Linked DNA regions of Homo sapiens: region 1 is linked to region 2. Evidence: promoter capture Hi-C in 16 types of primary human blood cells and fetal thymus (Javierre and others, 2016). All regions are on one chromosome and are shown on one strand. Each heading gives the region's core, a stretch centred on a gene start or on the middle of the fragment in contact. The rest is flanking DNA. Distances are from core to core; before and after follow the strand shown.

The links. The method cuts DNA at HindIII sites, captures the fragments that hold promoters and counts their contacts. A CHiCAGO score of 5 or more calls a contact.
Region 1: a fragment that was not itself captured here is called in contact with the fragment with the promoter of MIR497HG in region 2 in 3 of 17 cell types (megakaryocytes, erythroblasts and neutrophils); the score reaches 11.0 in megakaryocytes.

The regions. Positions count from the first base shown.
Region 1 is chr17:6,669,270-6,675,517 of GRCh38, reverse strand. No RefSeq gene overlaps it. Among named protein-coding and RNA genes, the nearest start is that of MIR4520-1, 17 kb to the right of the region's middle. RefSeq lists a silencer at 5,173-5,327. The HindIII fragment of the contact is 2,701 bases long and covers 406-3,106 here.
Region 2 is chr17:7,016,216-7,022,826 of GRCh38, reverse strand. It overlaps MIR497HG (mir-497-195 cluster host gene), which reads left to right and starts at 3,173. Exons shown (of 3, transcript NR_038310.1): 1 at 3,173-3,449; 2 at 5,439-5,758. BACC1 (BPTF associated chromatin complex component 1) reads right to left here. Exons shown (of 6, transcript NM_174893.4): 4 at 6,142-6,332; 5 at 5,813-5,917; 6 at 5,307-5,566. The coding sequence ends at 5,562. RNASEK-C17orf49 (RNASEK-C17orf49 readthrough) reads right to left here. Exons shown (of 8, transcript NR_037717.1): 6 at 6,142-6,332; 7 at 5,813-5,917; 8 at 5,303-5,566. MIR195 (microRNA 195) reads left to right here and starts at 5,126; the gene lies at 5,126-5,212. It also overlaps MIR497. RefSeq lists a silencer at 684-823 and enhancers at 4,099-4,268, 5,620-6,611. The HindIII fragment of the contact is 3,977 bases long and covers 2,004-5,980 here.

The DNA of each region.
Region 1 (6,248 bases), core at 507-3,006, 350 kb after region 2:
GTTAGGACAACTCAGTCCCAGCTCTGACCTCCTCACTTATGACCTGAGTGGCCTCGGTCATGCCACCTCTCTGAGCTCCATCTGTTCATGTCTCAACTGGAAATTGTGATAACACTAACCACACCCCCTTGGCAGAGTGACGGGAGGAGTAAATGAGATGGTGCATGAAGGGCCTGGATAGAGCAGGTCCTGAAGCGCCTGGATGAAAGGATGCTGTTCTGCCTCCCCCGCAAGGCTATGGGGAGGTGGGACTGGGCCTGGGAGGGCCGTGTGGAGAAAGGGCAGTTGGCCCTCCTGACTCCTGCTGGTAACCCAGGTCCACGAGCAGGGAGCCAGTCCCACTCTGGCTCTGTCTAGGGTGCCATTGTGGGGCTGAGGGGTGGTGCTCACACTGGAAGAAAAGCTTAGTTGGCCTAGGCCTGGTTAGCCAGGCTGTCCATGGAAGCCTGGCCCCTTCACACTCCTTGGATGTTTTTCTTCTTCTTCTTCTTCTCTGAATTTAGGCCCCTTTGGGCAATAGCAGCCTGTCTGTGACAAGTGTGCCGGACAACCAGGGCTTGGCCCATCTGACCCTGGGACCCTGGTCAGGTCCAGGGTAGAGCAGCATTTGGGAATCTTCGAGGGTGCAGATGCTCTGGGATAGACCTGCCCAAGGTCTGGTCCAAGGACGGTGCTCACCTCTGCTTCCAGGCCCCTGGCTCAGCCCCGAGGCCCAGGGCTCAGGTCGGGCAAAGCGGTAGCATCTCAACTGCTCCCACACCATCCGTGGTCTTCCCGAAACCCTGGTGCTGACTTGGCCTTCGTGGAGGCTGCCCCGGGAGGGGCTCCAACAAGACGGGCCTTGAGAAAGGCCCGTTACCTGCCAGTGCTCGGCCTCCAAAATAGAATTTGAAGGGAGCAAAGCCTTTAATTCCATGTGTCCCAACAGCAGGTCGGTGTGGGGATAACTATGATCTGACTGGTCTTGAGTTATAATTACGGAGTCAGAATGAAAAATTACAGGCATTGTGTGGGCTTGTTTTAAATATAACGTAATCCATACCGTCCTCTCTCTTATTTGCTAGATTTGAGGTGGAGGCTTTGGCAGTTGGCGCAGGTTTTGCCTGACGTGTAGCAGATAAAAATGGCCTTTGCTCAGTGAAGAGGGCATGGTGGGAGGCCTCTGAGACCCTCAGCATTCCCAACTGCCCACTTCCCACAACCATAGGCACGTGTGCTTCCGTGCGAGCCCTGTTTGTCAATCGCATTATCTGTATGTTGCGTTTCCCAGCTGACCTCCCTATTTCCTGTCTCCCTCAAGCCAGTCCACCAGAAACATCTCTGTAAAACCCAGCTTTGATGCTTAAGGACCCATCAAGGGCCTCTCTCTGTCTATAGGGTAAATCCAAACTCCAAGTTTCTTTATGACTTGGTTCCAATCCACATTCCAGCATCACAGCTGGGAACAGGAGCTGTGGCATGGAGGTGACATGAAGTACAAGGGCCCTGGGGCCCAACGGCACAGGCTCCAACTCGGGCTCCAACTCTTAGTAACCGAATGTGAGTCCAGGCAGGTTCCTTTTTCTTTTTCTTTTTGAGACAGAGTTTCGCTCTTCTTGCCCAGGCTGGAGTGCAATGGCGCGATCTCAGCTCACTGCAACCTCCACCTCCTGGGTTCAAGCAATTCTCCTGCAATTCTCCTGCCTCAGCCTCCTGAGTAGCTAGAATTACAGGTGCACACCACCATGCCTGGCTAATTTTTCTATTTTTAGTACAGACGGGGTTTCACCATGTTGGCCAGGCTGGTCTCGAACTCCTGACCTCAGGTGATCCACCTGCCTCGGCCTCCCAAAGTGCTGGGATTACAGGCGTGAGCCACTGTGCCCGGCCAGGCAAGTTCCTTAACCTTAATCTGCGTGCTTTAGCTCCTCCACTTCTTGCTATTTATATGGGGTTGCTGTGAAGACAGAATGAAATAACACACTCCTAGAACCACCCTCGTCATGTCCCTTTTCCTCTCCAAGACTTAGCTGACCGATCACTGAAAGGAGGCAACAGAAATACTGTCTTTCGAGTTAGTCGATGTTTCTTTGAATGATATTTCTTGGTGTAGTTGATGGTGTGTGGCGAGATGGGCATGTGTTAGTTCAACCTTTCTCAAAAGTAAAATAAAAATACACATGCGAAATCTTAAAACATGCCTATACCCTATGAGTAGGAATCTAAGCTAAGGGAAAAATGAAATTGTGGACAAAAATTTATGCATAAAGATGCTTACTTTAGTATTTTTTGTTTTGTTTTTGAGACGGAGTCTCACTCTGTCTCCCAAGCTGGAGTGCAGTGGGGCGATCTTGGCTCACTGCAACCTCTGCCTCCTGGGCTCAAGTGATCCTCCCACCTCAGCCTCCCCCACTCCAGTCCCCAGGTAGCTGGGACTACAGGCGTCAGCCACCACACCCAGTATTTTTTTTTTTTGAGATGGAGTCTCACTCTGTCCCCCAGGCTGTGGTGTGCAGTGGCGTGATCTCAGCCCACTGCAACCCCTCCACCCCTCCCAGTTCAAGCAATTCTCCTGCCTCAGCCTCCTGAGTTGCTGGGATTACAGGCACCTGCCACCATGCCCAGCTAATTTTTGTATTTTCAGTAGAGACGGGGTTTCACCGTGTTGGCCAGGCTGATCTGAAACTCCTGACCTCAAGTGATCTGCCCACCTTGGCCTCCCAAAATGCTGGGATTACAGGTGTAAGCCATGACGCCTGTCCCAAGATGTTTACTTTGGTATATTTTTATATCCTTGAAAAACTGAAAACATACATGCCTGACATTTAGGTAATATTAGTTAAGGTGTGTCAGCTCAAAAGACTATTATGCAGTCATTAACAGTGTTTTTAAAGAATATTTCGTTATATTGAAAATGCATATAATCGGAGGTAAATAAATCACGTATAATGTATGGTCGTAGTGATAATAAAAATATGCGAGCACAGAAAAGGTTGATATTGAAATAGAATAGCAGTTATCTTTGATGAACGGATAGAAGGATTAATATTTTCTCCTTTATAGTTTTCTGTATTTTCCAAATATCCTAGAAACAGGCATGCATTATTTGTATAATTTTTTAAAAGCTTAACGTTAAAATGTTAAATAAAATGAGAGGGTAGGGCCGGGCGTGGTGGCTCATGCCTGTAATCCCAGCACTTTAGGAGGCCGAGGCAGGTGGATCATGAGGTCAGGAGTTTGAGATCAGCCTGGCCAACATGGTGAAATCCCATCTCCACTAAAACATACAAAAATTAGCCGGGCATGGTGGTGCACGCCTGTAGTCCCAGCTACTCGGGCAGCTGAGGCAGAAGAATCGCTGGAACCCGGAAGGTGGAGGTTGCAGTGAGCCGAGATCACGCCACTGCACTCCAGCCTGGGCGACACAGAGAGACTCCGTCTCAAAAAAAAAAAAAAAAAAAAAAAAGAGAGAGAACTTGATGTCAGAGTTCCCTTCTGGCTGGTATCAATCTACGATTCTAATAGGCTGGGACCACCCACAGGGCCTGAGAGGTGACTGCAGAGAGCCCTCAAGACCTGCCTCAAAGACAAGCAGCCACAGGGCAGGTCCAGAGCCCGGAGTCAGCAACTCACTGATCATGAGGATTCGCCAAGTACATCCACACAGCCTTCCCTTGAAGCCAGCTGCCTCTCTAGAGTCTTTCTGAAACTTTCCCAAGTGTTGAAGACTCTTCCACGCCATTGAAAGTGGGCAGGGTGACAGCCCCACTCTGACCCTGCTAAACCATGGGGCCTCGGTGGCCCCCCGTCCACCTGGTGCCAAGTGGGGTTTGGCCTGAGAGGTGAGCTCTTTCTGCCACTTCAGGTAAGGGGCTCGTTGGAGAAGGTAGGCAGGCGGCGCCATTGTCACCTCTGTGGACCTGTCTACTGTCCACACATCTGGACTTTGGGGACACCACTTTCTGGCTCTTTCAGACCACACACCCCCAACGGCCAGGACACACAACACTGTCTGGTGAGTTGTCCTGAGGGTGGGGCTTCTGGAACACTTCCTAAGAGGGAGTCACTGAGGGACAGCCTGCTCACTCCCAGCTACTTCTGGGATCTCAGAATCACTGGATCCAATCGAGCAGGTCAGCCCAGCTGAGGCTACCTGGAGAAATGAAAGGGGCCTTTGGTGAGGCCCTGGTGGAAGGAAGGGCAGGGCACCATGTGAGTTCACAAAGGGAGCTCCCCGGGGAGGGAGCCCTTGGAGGCAGGAGCCTGGAGCCCTGTGCCCAGAACCCTGCGCCCCGCCTCTAGACTGCAGCTTGTCAGGGCTTGGCTAGGACCTCCATGAACCAGCTCCACACCTGGCCAGTTAGGAACCAGAGAAACTCAGAGGAATCAGAGGCTAAGACACTGAGACAGACAGGCTTAGAGGGACAGTAAGAACAGCAGTCGGCGGGAGGCAGGCAGAGGTGTGGGGAGACACAGGCTGAGAAACAGACAGTGCCTGAGACAGGGCGGAGAGGCCCCCACTAGGCAGACTGTGCACATCAGCACCTCCAAACAGGCTCACCCTCACGATCACCAGGGAACGCAAATTAAAGTCCCCCTGATGTGCCATTCATTTCACACCTATGAAATTAGCAAACATTAACAAAATTATAATGTCTCATGCTGTTGAAGCTGTGCTGAAACCAGCTTACACACACTGCCAGTGGCAGTGTAAATTAACACCACCTTTTTAGGGGAGAAATTGGGCAATACGCTTCCAGAGCTATAAAAATGTTCATACCTTTTAATGTGGTAATTCTGCTCCTGGGAATGTGTTGTAAGGAAGTCATTCAACAGAACCATGAAAGACGTGTATCTAAAGACCATGAGGGCAGTGCTCTCCGCTATATCCCGGGGGCTCTAGTATGGCCGCCATGAATATTTTTTAAAATAGGGAATATTAAGACTATAGGCTGGGCGCGGTGGCTTGAGCCTGTAATCCTGGCACTTTGGGAGGCCGAGGTGGGTGGATCACCTGAAGTCAAGGGTTCGAGACCAACCTGGCCAACATGGCAAAACCCCGTCTCTACTAAAAATACAAAAATTAGCCAGATGTGGTGGCAGGCACCTGTAATCCCAGCTACTCAGGAGGCTGAGGCAGGAGAATTGCTTGAACCCGGGAGGTGGAGGTTGCAGTGAGCTGAGATTGCGTCACTGCACTCCAGCCTGGGTGACAAAGACTCTGTCTCAAAAAAAAAAAAAAAAAAAAAGACTATATAGTATAACATTTAAGGGTTCTTAGAATATGTGAAAATGAGCAGAAAATAAAACCATCTGTACATTAAAATTAATAATTCCATAAAACAGCTGCCTGAAAGCTCAGGGCAGCCCCACCCTTGCTGGTGGAGGGTGAATGGTTCTTGATTCCCGGCTGGCCATACAGACACTCCTGTCTTCCCACTGAGGGGCCTGCCCTGCCGCTCCCTGTCTGGAAGCCTAATCTGCAGACCTCAGACCGGTGGGGAGACAGGCTCAGCAAAGCCTGCCCACCTGGCCAGCTCATGGGAGTGGCCCTGGGGAGTCTGAATGGTGCTCACTGAGTCACATCCGCTGAGGTGTGTCTCTGATGTCACACCTACAGAGGCCAAACCAGAAAGGAAAAGAAAGAGATGGTGGGGTTGGGTCTTGGTTTAAGAAAGGGATGCAGTGATTCTGCAAGTTCTGAAGTGTCTTGCTTGTTGCAAGCACAGCGGTCTGTTTAAGCCAGCTGACGTCTGGATGCCCAGCTGGTGCATCACCAGCTGAAGACAATTTAGAATAGATGGAAGGCAAAGGAAGAAGGGATCCTGGGGTCACCCCTCCTGGACTGCTCCGACAGTAGGCACGATCTCATTCTAAACTTGATCATCCAGTTCTGCATGTTTCCCACCACTATTACCCATCACAGAAGCTGGCACTGAACGGGAACTCAGTGAATTGTGGGTGGATGAAAAGGTGAGAATTTGACATATTCTAAGACCACGTAGTATAATGACCATGTAGTATGAATGAGCACATGTCACCAGACAATTCCAGCTCTATCCAAAGCCTCTCTAGCTTTTCAAAGGTGCCCTTCATCATGTTCTGGGGATGCTATGCCCCTTGTGCCTGCCCTGCTAACTGCCAAGGGGATGCCCTTCCTTACAGAGGCCAAGAACATTCAGTGACCGTGCCCAGGTCCAGACAAGCCCAACCTTGTTCATTCGCTCCACGCATAGCTACAGAACACAAAGAGGCTTTGTGACAGGCCT
Region 2 (6,611 bases), core at 1,924-4,423:
AATTGGGGAGGAGGTTAGGGATATCGAGGTTGGCAATACGGGAGTCTGAGTCGTCGGAAGGCCTGGGCCAGTGAAAATTGGTGTGTTGGCTTTTGGGAGGGTTTGCCAGGAGCCAACCTTTGCTGCAGGACAAAGTGCATACGGCAACCCCCTCTCCCTCTCTTGTACTGTGTTAAGGGAGAAAAGGGGGAGCCCAACGAGACAGCAGGTTTGGGCAGACGACAGTGGGCTCCCGTAGGGTCTCAGACGGGGAGGGTGTGGTGTGAATGACAGGCTACTCTACCCGGGCCTACAAAAAGGGGGGCTCTGGCCGGGCGGGGTACGGAGAGGGCGGATATGATTTCTAGTTGGTTTCCTTCCATTGTCCTGCGACCGGACGGCTCCGCCAGCTGCTTCCCCTCGAGGAGGTGGGGAAAGCCCCGAGGTGGGGGTGGAGGGGCGAGAGACGCTCGGGAGACCTAGGCGTCCGGCCTCTCTCGCTCCCGACTCTCTTCTGGGTCCTTGTAGGGATCCAGAGAGATGGACTCCCGCCCAAAGCCCGCTTGCTTTCCCCCAATCCCAGCTCACGAGGGCCTCGGGCACCCGCCCGTCGGCTACGCTTGGAGGCTGGCGGGACGCCGGGGTCCAGCGCGGCAAGTAGGCAAGGCTCGGCAATGTGCGGCTCCTTCCACGAGGGGGCGGCCGAGCACTGGCCTCGCCTCGCCCCTCGTCTCCACCCGGCCTGGGGTGCGCTCAGACCCGGGCGCAGGATCCATTTGGTCTGGGCGGCTGAAACCTTTAGCCTCCTCCCCTTTGCGCGGGTTTATTTTGCACCTCTGTCTCCTAGGAGGGGACTAGGGCTGGGCGGAGGGAGCTAGAGTTAGGAGACCGAGGGGACTTTCCCCTCAGGCTGGGGTTCCTACCCGAGGTGAGAAATCGCGGGCTTTAGGAGCCAGGGGAATGGGTGGGACAAGAAGCGGGACCTGAGCCTGGGAACTCCGGGTTTTCTTTTCGAATTAAGCTAGACACTGCTACCCAGATGTCTTTGGAGGTGACTTTTAATTGAACATTAAAATTGGGTGGGGTAAACGAGAAGGGAAAACAAGGAGGAGGGAGAGAGGGCAGGAGGGGGCTTAACCACCCTAATTTGAAGTCCCTGATCTGAGAGATGGGCATGGATCACACCCTCATATTTTGTTTCGGGAGACATTGCGGGCAGGCAAGGCAAAGCTCATTTGGAGAAGGGGTGCTAGAGCTGAATCCAGCTGCAAGGCAGAAGCTCCCCGGATTTGGGCTGGGGAGAGTGTACAGTTGGCCAGGAATGGCCGACCATGGTCCACGGGGCTGGATATCAGGCCCGGGGCCCTCCCCTTCAGACCGGAGTGTGTCTTTATTTGAATGCATGAAAGAACAGCTGAGAAACCGGGAACTGGGAAATTCAGGACGATGAGGTGGCTTTGACATGTGAGGGTTATTTAGGTCTCTGCCCAGCTTGGAGATGAGAATTAGACTAGGGGCTCTCCCTTTGGCATCAGGATGGAGTATTATTTGATCAGTTGTGGGGTGTCTGTTTATTATGGGGTGTTGATTTGATTGTGAGCACCGGTGGCTGCATTCAGCCTTTGAGGCCTATATGGTAAGTTTCAGGTATGGGGCTGACTTGGAAGTTACATTAGTTCTGGGGGTTCTGACACCCACAATTTGGAGATTGTGCTCACCTGTGTCATCTTGGACTATCAGCAGAACCAAAGTACTCATGCTGATTTGGGGGTGCAGTCTATTTTGGGGTGCCATCTAAGTTTCAAGGCTCAGATTAGATTTGGGGAATAAGTTCAATTTGGAGTTTTAAAAATTAGTTTGAGGTGGAACATTATAGGAAGCTGGGAGCAAGTTCGAAGCTTTCTGTGATTGGGGGTCCTGGGAGGGGGGAGCAAACTTTTATATTTGAGTCTTGTGGACACTCACGTTCCACAAAGTGGAAAGACGTGGGGTATTCCTGTGTATCCATGGATACCCAAGAAGCTTTTTCCCCAGGGGAGAAACAAGGTGAGGGCCGCGAGGACAGGAGACTAAAGTTCTGGGGTGTTCTTATTTTGGGGGTGTTTTGTCACTCTGGCTGCTTTTGGTGAAGCTAAGGGATAATCATAAGGTGAGACTGATTTGGGAGTTCACTTAATTTGGACCCTGGTTTGGGATGTCTTTTGCTTATAGTGCCCTCTCACCCCAGATTCTAGAAGTTTCTTTAGTGAACCCCCAAATAAGCCCAGGATTTGAAGGGAGAAACTTGGAAAGGGTGTGGTATCTCCTTTTATTATTATGTGGCTTGAGGGAGAAGAGAGGGAGAAAAGGCGGTTTCAGACTCTGAATCCCAATTTCTTAAGGGAGCACCCCTTAGTTTGGGGGAAGTTGGAGAAAAATGGGGTGTCCCTTGGCCAAGTGGGCACCCCTGACCAGGGCAGTGCTGTTGGAACTGTGGCAAGGAGGGGTGCTGGTGGGGTACAAGGAGGTGATTCTTGCACCCTGATTTTCTAGGATGAGCCCCAAACAGAAAGCAGACAGAGGACTGGGAGTGTGGGTGAGATGGCGGGGAGGGGTTCCCCACGGCAGCCGGGGCTACAGGGTAAGCCAGGCCAGCTCTTCGCGCCTGGGTCCCTTCTCTCTTCGGCCCTCCTCCCCTCTCTCCCTCCCACCGCCCACCCCCCCAACCCAAGAAAAAAAACTGCCTGTGCAACAGCAATGGCAGATTCCAATCCTCCAGGCTTTCCTAAACCACCACGGTGACCAGCCAGGGGGGAGGGGAAGGGAGGAACGGGCTTTCCTGCTTCCTTAAGACAGGGGCAATGAGCTTGACCTCCTGGCCCCTAGCCCTTTGAGGAGTGATTCCCCCCGGTCTGGAAGCCAGGTGTCCTGGACCCTAGCCCCCGAGCGGTGGGGGGGGCCTGGAGAGACGGGGAGGAGGAAGGAGGGAGTGACTTCCAAAATTGGCATCGGGACAGAGCAGGGCTGGCGGGAGGCAGGCAAAAGACGGAATTTTCCTGAAAAAACGGGGGTATCTGAGGACCCCAAATTTGGGGAGCTAGTCCAGGACCGTCCTCCCAACATCCTAGATTTTTTTGGGATTTTTTGGGGACCCCGGGACCCCTCTAGATGGGGTGAGGAATGTAGTGTTGGGTGAATCTGACTGGGGCATTGCAGCTGCCTCTCCCGCCGAGTTGGAGACGGATGGGCTGGGACGGGTTTTGGGGGGGTGTCCCCAATTCTGACTGGGAGTGGAGGAACCCCTCCTGAGATCTCTTGTGGGGGTGCCCCCTCCCCAGGGCACTCCCCAGTCCCTGAGCCAGCCGAGAGGAAGGAGGCCAGCGATGCGACTGGGGCGGCTCCTTTCTCCTGCACCCCAAATGTGAGGGATGCACCCTAAATTTTGCTCTTTTCAAAATAGGGGACCAGGATCTCAGGGGAGAGTAGCTGAGGTAAGTGGGGAGGGAAGTGTCCTCTGTTTTCAGGAGAGACGTGGCGGTTGGGGGGGAGGTTTGGAGGTGCGTGCTGGGGTGGGGTTGGCTTTGTCAGTCTTGGAATTGGGGGGATGATTGGAGAGGCTTTCTCTTATACCCCTAAACTGCAGCCCCCCAGACGGAAACCAAAGGCTGAGACCAGAGAGCCCCCCAACATCCCCAGCCGTTAGGATAGTGTTTAATTTCTCTTTCACCCCCCACAAAGGCTCTGCCGAGGTAGGAGCTGGGGGCAACTGTTAGTTTGGGGGCTATGGAGGGTGGTGGAGGAGCAGGAGGCCTTGGCAAGATTTGATGGAGGGCAGATAGGGGTGTCCGGGAGGGGTCTGGCATCTTCGGGGGCCTAAAAAGACTGCTTACATACACCACCTTGGATCTTTCAGATTGCTAAGAGTTTTGGGGGGTGTGTCGGAAGAGGGGGTGGTAAAAGATGCGATGGGATATAGGAAGATAACTTCTGGATTTTAGGGGGTCATATTTTGATTTGCAAAAGGAGTTTTGGCCCTTGGATTTTGCTTTCTGAGGGGTGTTTTTAAAAAATCAAGTCCTGGACAGGAGAAAAGGGCTGAGGGAAGGCCTGGAGTTGGGGGTGGGGAGAGGCATGTTTGTCTCAGCTTAAACGTGGCTCTCTGGGGTGGGCCCGCCTGCCCTGGCCTGGTGGATGGGCTGATGGAGGTTGCTGTGGGGGCCGGCTCGGGTCCTCAGGGGCCCTGGGGAGTGGGAACAGCACTGGGGGTTGAATACCTGGCCCCCCAGGTCCAGATGGCCCTCTTCCTGGGCTCTGCTGCTCCCCTTCCCCCTGGTCTCCATTTCCTGCCTTTGGCCTCCATCTTGTGGCAGGCCCAGGGCCCAGGGCGACTTCCGGCCCCCCTCTCCCAACCATGTTCCGGCCCCACCACCTCTGGACTGCCAACTCCCAACCCTGCTGGCCTTGGCCCTCTGTCTCTCCTTGCTTTTCTCTTGGGTTCTGACCCAGGGAGAGGAAGGACGGACACAGGAAGCCTTGGGTCCCTGCCCTTGCTGAGACAGGAGGCAGTGTGTTGGCCCCTCCAGTCATTCCCTATTTCTTCTGCCTCTGACCCCACCCTAGGGATCCCCTGAGCTGAGTTCCTACAGAGGGAAGATGGTCCAATCTTACTACACTGTGAGCTCATCCCCATGGTCCGTCGCCTTCCAGTTGCCTGCTCAGCCCGTCCCTGGTTCCTCCCAAACGTTTTTGGGGGCCATGTTTGCCTTTTAAGGCTTCTCTATCCCCCCGCTCCTGGAGGTGGTGCTGGGGTCTTCCCAGCACTGCTATGTGCTCTCTTCCTTTCAACCCACCCCGGTCCTGCTCCCGCCCCAGCAGCACACTGTGGTTTGTACGGCACTGTGGCCACGTCCAAACCACACTGTGGTGTTAGAGCGAGGGTGGGGGAGGCACCGCCGAGGCTTGGCCCTGGGAGGCCATCCTGGAGAAGTGACACAAAAAACATCTGGGGCCTTGTGACAAACTTCTTGCCAGGTGGGCAAGGAGAGGGTGGGGTATGTAAGCACCCCTCTAAAATCTCCAGGGCAGTTTCAAGAATACTGATGGCCAGAGACCCTGGGAGTAAGTTCTGCCTCAAGAGAACAAAGTGGAGTCTTTGTTGCCCACACCCAGCTTCCCTGGCTCTAGCAGCACAGAAATATTGGCACAGGGAAGCGAGTCTGCCAATATTGGCTGTGCTGCTCCAGGCAGGGTGGTGAAAACTACCGAGGAGGGGCTGAGCCCCCATGGGCCGAGGAGAGAAGAGGGAACAGGCCTCTCCTGCTAATAATGTTAAGCAGACAGCACGAAGCTGAGAGGGAAATCTTTATTGTTTTCTGTATAAAAATGTCCATCAGATGAAGGTCAAAGGGGTTGGGGGCAGATGCTTATGCGGGAATAGCGAGGTGGCAGCCCCAGCAGCCTTTCAGCCCTCTCTCGTGCAGGCCTTGCTCGGAGTCCCAGGAGATCCACAGGTCCGGCATGAACAGTGAGAGGTCAGAGGTGGAAGGCTCAGCAGGAGAGGAGAGGAGGATCAGCAGAGGTCATGAGAAGGCCAGAATCCAGGGTCAGGCTGTCTGGAACAGGAAGTAAAATGGGCCGAGATGGAGCGAGCCCCCAGTGTGCTTCCAAGGCCACTCCCACCTCCCTGAAACACCCTGCTACGTACTGATCCAATGCCCTGCGCTGTGTATGAGAGCACCTTCTCTTCTGAAACCCCTATACAAGGGAGGGGCCCCTGCGGAGACCGTGCCCTGCCATCCAGGTGAGCCCTTTCTCCCCAACCCCGTCAGCTGTGTGGGAGGAGGAGGACTCCTACCCTGGTCGAAGTTGAGTTTCTTAGCTGGAGGAGTTTCTCCTAGCCCTTCAATATCCACCACGTCACTGTTGGCATCGGAGTCGTTCAGAGCACTGAGTGTCACATCTGGGAAGGGGGCATAAGCTAGGTTCTAGGTTCCCCTGACAGCCTCTCCCCCAGCCCCAAGCTTCCCAAAGCTTTGTGCCTCCTCTCCCCTCCCCTCTGCCCCTCTCTGGGAACCTCCACAGGGACAGGAAGAGAGACTGACCCTTCTTTGACCCAGGCCCAATTCTCTCACTAAACCTCAGATGGGACCTTTAACCCCTAGGCAGCAACTCCACAGCCCTCACCAGCCTTCTGTTTCTTTATGGGGGGACCCCCGGCCTCAGGGACACTGGAGCTGCTGGGAGGAGGGGCAGCTGGAGGAGGTGACAAGACACCAGATGCCACCTTCTTGGGCCCTTTCTTGGGTGACTCAGCTGGAAGGGGGATGCCAGAATCTTCATATACCTTGCGTTTCACAGTGGCCTTTATCTGGGCCCTGAAGAAAAGAGAGAAGAGGTTAGGAAAGGAGTCATCAGAGAGACTAACAGAAGAGGGGACGGGAGGGGAAGGGGTTCTGGGAGTCCCTTCATAAGAATCCAGGTCGGGGCCCCAACCCATTGGTAGGGTTCTCACTTTCTCGAAGTTTTACACTCACTCAGGATGGATGGAGTGTGGAGAGTGGAGTCCCTGAACTGAGTAGTGGGAAAGGCCCATCTCCTAATTCTCTTCTGGGAGAGACATCAGGTAGAGCTTGGTGATTTACAGGTGGATTGAG